Linked DNA regions of Homo sapiens: region 2 is linked to region 1. Evidence: promoter capture Hi-C in human tissues and cell types (Jung and others, 2019). All regions are on one chromosome and are shown on one strand. The core of a region is centred on a gene start or on the middle of the fragment in contact, and the rest is flanking DNA. Distances in the headings are between cores, read along the strand shown.

The links. The method cuts DNA at HindIII sites, captures the fragments that hold promoters and counts their contacts. A contact is called where the count stands out against the background at its distance.
Region 2: a fragment that was not itself captured here is called in contact with the fragment with the promoter of SMCO4 in region 1 in 1 of the 25 tissues and cell types used here (H1 embryonic stem cells).

What each region holds. Positions count from the first base shown.
Region 1 is chr11:93,541,458-93,545,107 of GRCh38, reverse strand. SMCO4 (single-pass membrane protein with coiled-coil domains 4) reads left to right here and starts at 1,717. Exons shown (of 3, transcript NM_020179.3): 1 at 1,717-1,832. RefSeq lists silencers at 1,517-1,646, 1,807-1,856, 1,987-2,226. The HindIII fragment of the contact is 9,629 bases long and covers 1-3,650 here.
Region 2 is chr11:93,362,367-93,365,754 of GRCh38, reverse strand. It overlaps DEUP1 (deuterosome assembly protein 1), which reads right to left. Exons shown (of 14, transcript NM_181645.4): 5 at 1,461-1,595. Among named protein-coding and RNA genes, the nearest start is that of DEUP1, 33 kb to the right of the region's middle. The HindIII fragment of the contact is 3,388 bases long and covers 59-3,388 here.

The DNA of each region.
Region 1 (3,650 bases), core at 468-2,967:
TTAAAGCAATTCACACGGCAGTACCACTGCCCCAATTTAAACCTTGAGGCTTGCTAATTTCATATTTAGCTGCATCCCATATGCTCCCAATCCCTCTGCCCTAGTGTGGAGCTACAGCTCAAACTCCTTTGAAGGTAGGAAACTTACCTCACACACGCGTGTTCCCCTCATTCTTTCAGCGCATAGAACACTAAAAAGATGCTCCTTAAATACATGCTAAATAAACTGATCAATAGTTGCCTTTTATTAAATATCTTTGTGTTTCAGGTATTTCCTTATTTCCTTCACAGACCGGATCATGAATGATCTCCCAATGTGACAAGGTCTTATTCTCCACAGTTTACCGTTGAGGGGACTGAGGTGCAGAAAGCCCAAGGTGTATGCAGCCCAATCCCCTCTGATCCCACTCTACTGCATTGCTGCCTTTTGTACGCAGCAGGAAGGACACTTCCTGTAAAAATGAAAAAAAAAGCCTTAAGTTGTTTGAGAGAGGGTCAGGAAGAAAACAGGAAGAGCCAGTAGACTGCAGGTGCTTTCAAAGGGCTCCCTGTCTTTGACATCCCTAAAATAAAAACTTGTTAATTAAGAGATTGGCCACAGAAATCCAGGTGGAAAACCTGCAGAAGAGTGGGTTCCACAATTCTTCAAAACAGAACAAAAAAACCCCAAGACTTGTTATATTTTTACCGGTGGAGGGGAAGAGGTTACAGGAGTGGCCTTGCTCCCCGGGCTGGCCTTGCTGAGCAGGTGACAATACCACACATATAAAGGTTTTAAGGTGAAAAGGTAGTCAATATTTTACATTTCGAAGATAGTTTTTAAAATCACCTACTGCATCAGTAGTAATACAACAATAACTACCATTTACATACCACCGCACACATCGGGGCTGCGTAAAGAACTTTATAGTGCACCATCTCAATTAATTCTCACAACTCTGTGAAGTAGGTTTTATTATTCTTAATTTATAGACGTGTTCACTGTGGGCCAGGGAGATGAGCTTTCCCGCGATTGCCCAGCTTTTAAGAGGTAGATCTCAAACCTAAACGTGTTTGACCAAAAGCCCTGAATAACATTTAGCCGTGGGCCTCTTGCGGATTTGGCGCTGGTCCGAGGTGGGGAATTGTGAATCTCATTTATTTATGCTGAGCTGCGCACACATATGCACGTGTAAGTTACAAAAAACAAATCCAGGTCAGGATCTCTGTCCGCTTGAGGTTTCAAAGCCTACTTGGGTAGACAGCGGTAAAAGTCTCAACTCATTCATCTACTCGTTTGCTCTCTTCACAAGTATTTATTGCGCACTTCAGTATTCCAGACAGGGCGCTAACCTTGCCCTGGAGGAGAGAATGGTGAACACAACAGACATGGCGTTTGCCTCCAACTATCCCCTTTCCGATTCTGCTATCTCACGGGCGAGGCGTTCAAAGAAGCAGGAAATATATCAACAAGGGGGTGACTTAAGCACCCGCTGCGCGGGAGCCGGAGGAAGCGCGCTGAGCCTGCAGAGGTGGTCAGGGCGAACTTCCTGGAGGCAGCGGCAGCAGCAGGCCGGGCGAGAACCCAGGTCGCTCGGAAGCGACAGTCTGAGCCGGGAACGGGGAAGAGGGGGCGGGAGCCGAGGCCCGGGCGGGGGCAGCCAGCGAGTTAGGGTTAGGACGGGAGGATTCGGCTTCCCGGCGGCAGAGGGCGCCTGGCGCTGCGGTCTGGCGCGCCAGAGTCGCCCGCGCGGGCGCCGAGAGGAGAGGCGAGGCGGGGAGCGCAAGCGGCGGCGGCCACTGCCACGTATTCCCGGCAGTGGTGGCGGCGGCGGCGGCGGCGCCCGCGGGCAGGTGGGCTGGGAGCGGCGCGGCGGCGGCGGCGGCGGGGCGGGCGAGCCGGCGGGCGGGCGCGGGGCACGGGGCACCGGGCACCGGGCGGGGGTGCGGCGCCGGGACAGTACGGTTCCCGCCACGCCGGCTCCGCCTCCGCGCAGTGCTGCTGACCCAGGCCTGGGCGCCCGGCGGGTCCCGAGCGCAACTCGTGCGGGCGGGGTTGGGGGCCCGAGGGACTCGAGCTCGCCTGCCCGTCGCGGCTCGAGACGCTGCATCCCGGTTGCTGCGGGGCGGGGGCTGGGAAAAGTTGGGGCGGACCGCGAGCCCGCGGGGCCGGGCGGGAAGTGCGGGTGCGGGGCGGACTCAGGGGCCGGGGGACGCAGTGCAAAGGGCTTGGGCCGGGGCGGCCGGGAGGGCCCCGTATGGGAAGGTGGGAAACGCGGGTCCTTTGAGGACGCCGAGAAAGGGGTGCGCTCAGGGTCTCTGGGAGTGGACAAGAGTCCGGCGGCGGACCTTGCGGGTGAGAAGGGTCGGCGCCTGGGGGTCGGGGAGTAGAGGTGAGGCGGGGGCGGGATAGAGCCTTCCTCCTCCCCCGTTCTTTCGGGACCGACCCTGAGACCCGGGGCAGGCTCCGAGCTGGGTACGCCTCTGGCATCTGAAGACCCAGTGGGGAGTTCCTGTACGGGGTGGGTGGAGGAGGGAGCTGAGCGTTGCTTCCTCTGCTGCTGGGGCCGACTACCGCCCCTCCCCAGCGGCCAGATTCACCTCAGACTGCAGTGCTTTTGCCCTGAGGAAGTTGAGGAGGGACAGCTGAGCGGATGAGATGTTTGGGGTGTTCCAAGATGAGTGGGATTAGGCTGCATGATATCATAACTATCTCCGGGAGCTGTCAGAAAACACTCCCATGTCCTCATACACCCACCCATCCACTCATCCAGTCAGTACTGCCAAGCTCCAGGCTCCCTTGCTCTTTAAGTGACACCTCTAGATCCCCAGAGCCCAACAGCGCATCTGCTCACAGCCTCGAGGGTGGCAAGGGTGGAAGACATGGCCTGCTAGTGTCTGCGTAGGTTGGTGCTTTCAGAAACAAGTGGTTCTGGAGGTGCTGGATGCTTTATTAGAACAACCTGTGTGGAGCCCGTTGACAATGCAGATGACTCATGTTGGCTTTTTTTTTTTCCCCTTTACAAATAAACTTTGTATTCAAGACACCAGTATGCCTGGTCATTTGCAGCAGTGATACGGCAAGAGACCCATAGTGGGCTTCTTGAGCCCTTATTCTCGTCCTAGATGTGTTAGCAAGAAGTTTGACCTTGGATGAGTCACTTGCTCTCTCTGGACTTCTGTTTTCTTATCTGTCACATGGGGTATAAAGAGAGAGCTCGACAGTGTGATGTAGACAGGAGTAGGTTTCTGAGGGACACAGTGAAATCTTTTTTCTTGTAAGGCTGGATCAGCCACAGAAAATAAGCCTTAGCCTGTTCTTATAAAGAAATTAGCTTAGATTTAAAATAAAATATGAGAAGAAATATTGCAAAAAGCAAAACAACAAAAAACTAATAGTAGTTGGTACTCGATTTACAACATGAATACTGTTCTTATGCTTGCAGTTAGTGTACTTGGTTGTCCAGCTATCTACTATAAAGTTGCTCATTGTGCTTAGAAAGTGTGTATTTCACCTGTGGACCCGAATTTTTTCTTATTGTTTAATCTTCAAGCTTGGAGTGGACGCTCAAGCTTGGAGTTGGATTGGTCCTGCTGGGGTTTGTCTGAAGAACATCCTCAGGGTCTCTCATTGCATAATATTATAGGTTTCCTTCTGTCTGACTGATGCTG
Region 2 (3,388 bases), core at 503-3,002, 180 kb after region 1:
ATATCTGCATAGAGTCTTTAAAAACTTTTGTGTAAGTGCAAACATATCAAAATATTTTGCTACTAATTTCCACTATAATTTCATTACATATATATAACGTAAATATTTAGTTTCCTAAATGTAAAATGTGCATACACAAAGTACTTGATACTAACTTAAGGCTTTTTTTGTCTGAAAAATTTTTATTAATGTAGTTCTCCCACAAAAGCCCATGAAAAGTCAGTCGAATGGAATATTAGTGACTCAATCTCTTCATTTTCAGTGAAAGCACATGTATATTACAGTGCACATCTATCGGCATCTTCCATGAGGTCAGGATATTTCTGAAGCCCGTCTGGTTGTACCACTGCAAGAGCCTGGGAGTACAACACAGTGCATTTTCCTAGAGGGCCAACTTACTTAGTGATGGTAAGTTTGTTTTTTTAAAAAACTATGTATTATTCAGAAGCATGTAAAATGTGCTGGACTTTTAAAGATTAAAATCTAGGACTTCCTACAAAGATCTTATAATAAGCCGATTTTAGGGCTGTGATCCCGGATTTAATTTTTTTCTGCTCTTTAAGATATTTTAAAGTAGAAGGACTTTTTAATTAAAGATGAAAAAGTGCTGGCAAGGGGAGGGATGCTGGGGTTTAGGGCTTGAGAAAAATGAAAGAAATTAAGTGGGATAACATAAGGGTCAACTTGAAGTCAATTAAAAAATAATAATTGGGCAGTACTGAGAATCCAGGTAAAAGTAGATGATAGGAATTTATAGTGTAATCTTTCTGCTGTTCCATGACTTGTAGGAGGAATGCTCAAGAACACAGGGAAGAAAAATAGCTGGTTTGTTTTTTCCAAGGTTGGAAAACGAAGAAGATAAGAATAAGTGCATCAACGACACAGTGTATTTTTAAAGTTTTTTGTTTTTAATTTTTGTGGGTACATAGTAGATATATATAGTTATGAGGACATAGTGAATTTTTTTTAGAGACCAAAATTTTAGAAATTCTGAATGCTTTGGGGCAATTGAATTGGAGTGACATTATGCCTTTAAAGAAAAAAAACCATGAAACTTCAAGCCCTGTTTTAAAAACTGTGATGAGGCTTCATTGGGATTTAACTACCTAATAGCTAAATGGCCATTAAAAGATTTATTAGATATTCACTTTAACTGACCCCAGGGGTGTCCTTCAATTTTACTCAACAGCTGCAGTTTCTTTTGACTTTTTTGGCTCTTTTTTTTTTAATCTCCCAAAATGCTGATATATGCAAAAGATGTATACATCAAAGTGATGTTTTAATTCACTAAGTGCCTGAGGGGAAGGTGCACTAAGAAAATATATTCAGTGAGAAGTTAGTTTGTAATAGTGTTTATTACCACAACTGAAGACACCATTGTGGACACTAGAGACAAATAGCCCACAACAATAGGAATCAATCTTTAATACACATGAAGAAACTAAGATAATATATCTCACCTCTAATTTCTGGTTCAAATTGCTCAGTTCAAAGGGTATTTCTTCTTTAAGGTGTGGTAATTCTTTTCGTGGAACTTTGTTTTGTTTCATCTGATGTAATCTCAGTTTTTCAAAGTTATTTGTTAGTTTGGAAAACTGTAAATCACAGAAAATGTTAACATTTTACTATTACCAATTATTTCTAACCTGATTTCACTATATCTCTTTTCCTGTGTACCTCTTTGAAAATTTGTCATGATTAGAAAGTGCAGTAAAGCTTAAATGTTTCAATTAGTGAAGACAGAACCAGTTATTAAAACTAAATTATTGAAGCTGAACACAATTCAGCTTTCATGTAAACTCGAGATTCATTAACTGCACAGTTAAACAATTATTCACTTGATAAATGGCTTGTTCAATTTTGTTTTAATCATATGCAGCAAAGCTCACAATTTTTTTAAAAAACAAGTTTTTTTCTTACTTTTAGTTAGTGCCGTCTTGTGTTTACAATTTTAAATCCAGTAAATCTACAAAATAACTAGCTTATACCTTACTTAAGAAAACAGAATATGTATTAATTTAAAAGACATAAGTAACATAAGCCACTTATTCATGTGGATACGTTTAAATAAATTTTAATATCAAAATTGATCTAATATTTTTCTTAATGATAATTCTTTTTATAACATTGTATTATTTTTTCCATTTCCTGTTCTACCTTCAAATAATAGATTCAAAGTAGCATAGTTTATGAACATTTGTGAGGAAATTTCTATACTCATGTATCTGTTTTCAAATGTGTCTTGTTTACACATTTTATTTTAAAATAATTATAGGTTTACAGGAAGTTCCAAAGTTATTACTGAGGTCCCAGGTTCTCTTCACCCAGTTTCCCCCAATATTTACATCTTATTGAACCACAGTACATCAAACCCAGGAAATTGAAATTGGACCAATATATGTATATAGTTCTATGCCATTTTATCACATATATAGATTTATCTGACCACAACCACAATCTAGATATAGACTATTCTGTCACCACAAAGATCTCCTTCATGCTATCCCTTTAGAATCACACTTAGTCCCCTCATCCCCCAACCCCTAATCCCTGAAAACCACTAATTTGTTTTCCATCTCTATAATTTTGAGAATGTTATAAAAAGAAATCATACAGCACATTACCTTTTGGGATTGTATTTTTTTCACTCAGCTTAATGTGAAAGCCATGCATGAATTCCTTTTTAGTGCTGAATAGTATTCCATGGTATAAATGTATCAGTTTGTTTAACCATTCATATATTGAGACATTTTGATTTTTTCCAGTTTTTGTCTACTGTAAATAATGCTATGAACAATGGTGTCTACTTTATCAGATTAATTAAAGTAGCCACTTCTGCTTTTTTCCTCATAATTTTAAATTGAGATATAATTCACCTACTATAAAATTCACCTGAATAATATTCCATTGCATAAATACACTACATTTTGTTTATCCATTCATCAACTGATAGAAATGTGGGTTGTTTCCACTTTGAGATATTATAAATAATGCTACTGTGAACAGTTACATAGAAGTTTTTGTGTAGATACATGTTTTACTTTCTCTTGGGTATATACCTAGGAGTGGAATTGTTGGATCTTATAGTAACTTTAATAACTTTTTGATGAACAGAAAAATTGTCTTCCAAAATGGCTGTACCATTTTCCATTCCCATTCACAATACATTGGGTTACAATGTCTCCATATCCTCTCCAACACTTGTTATTTTCTTTTTTATTATAACCATCCTAGTGGATGTGAATGGATATTGTGGTTTTGGTTTCCATATCCCTAATGACTAATGATGTTAAGCATTTTTTATGTGCTTATTGGCCATTCATATATCTGCTTTGGAGAAATATCTATTCAAATATTTATCCATTTTAAAATTTGGTCATCTGTCTTT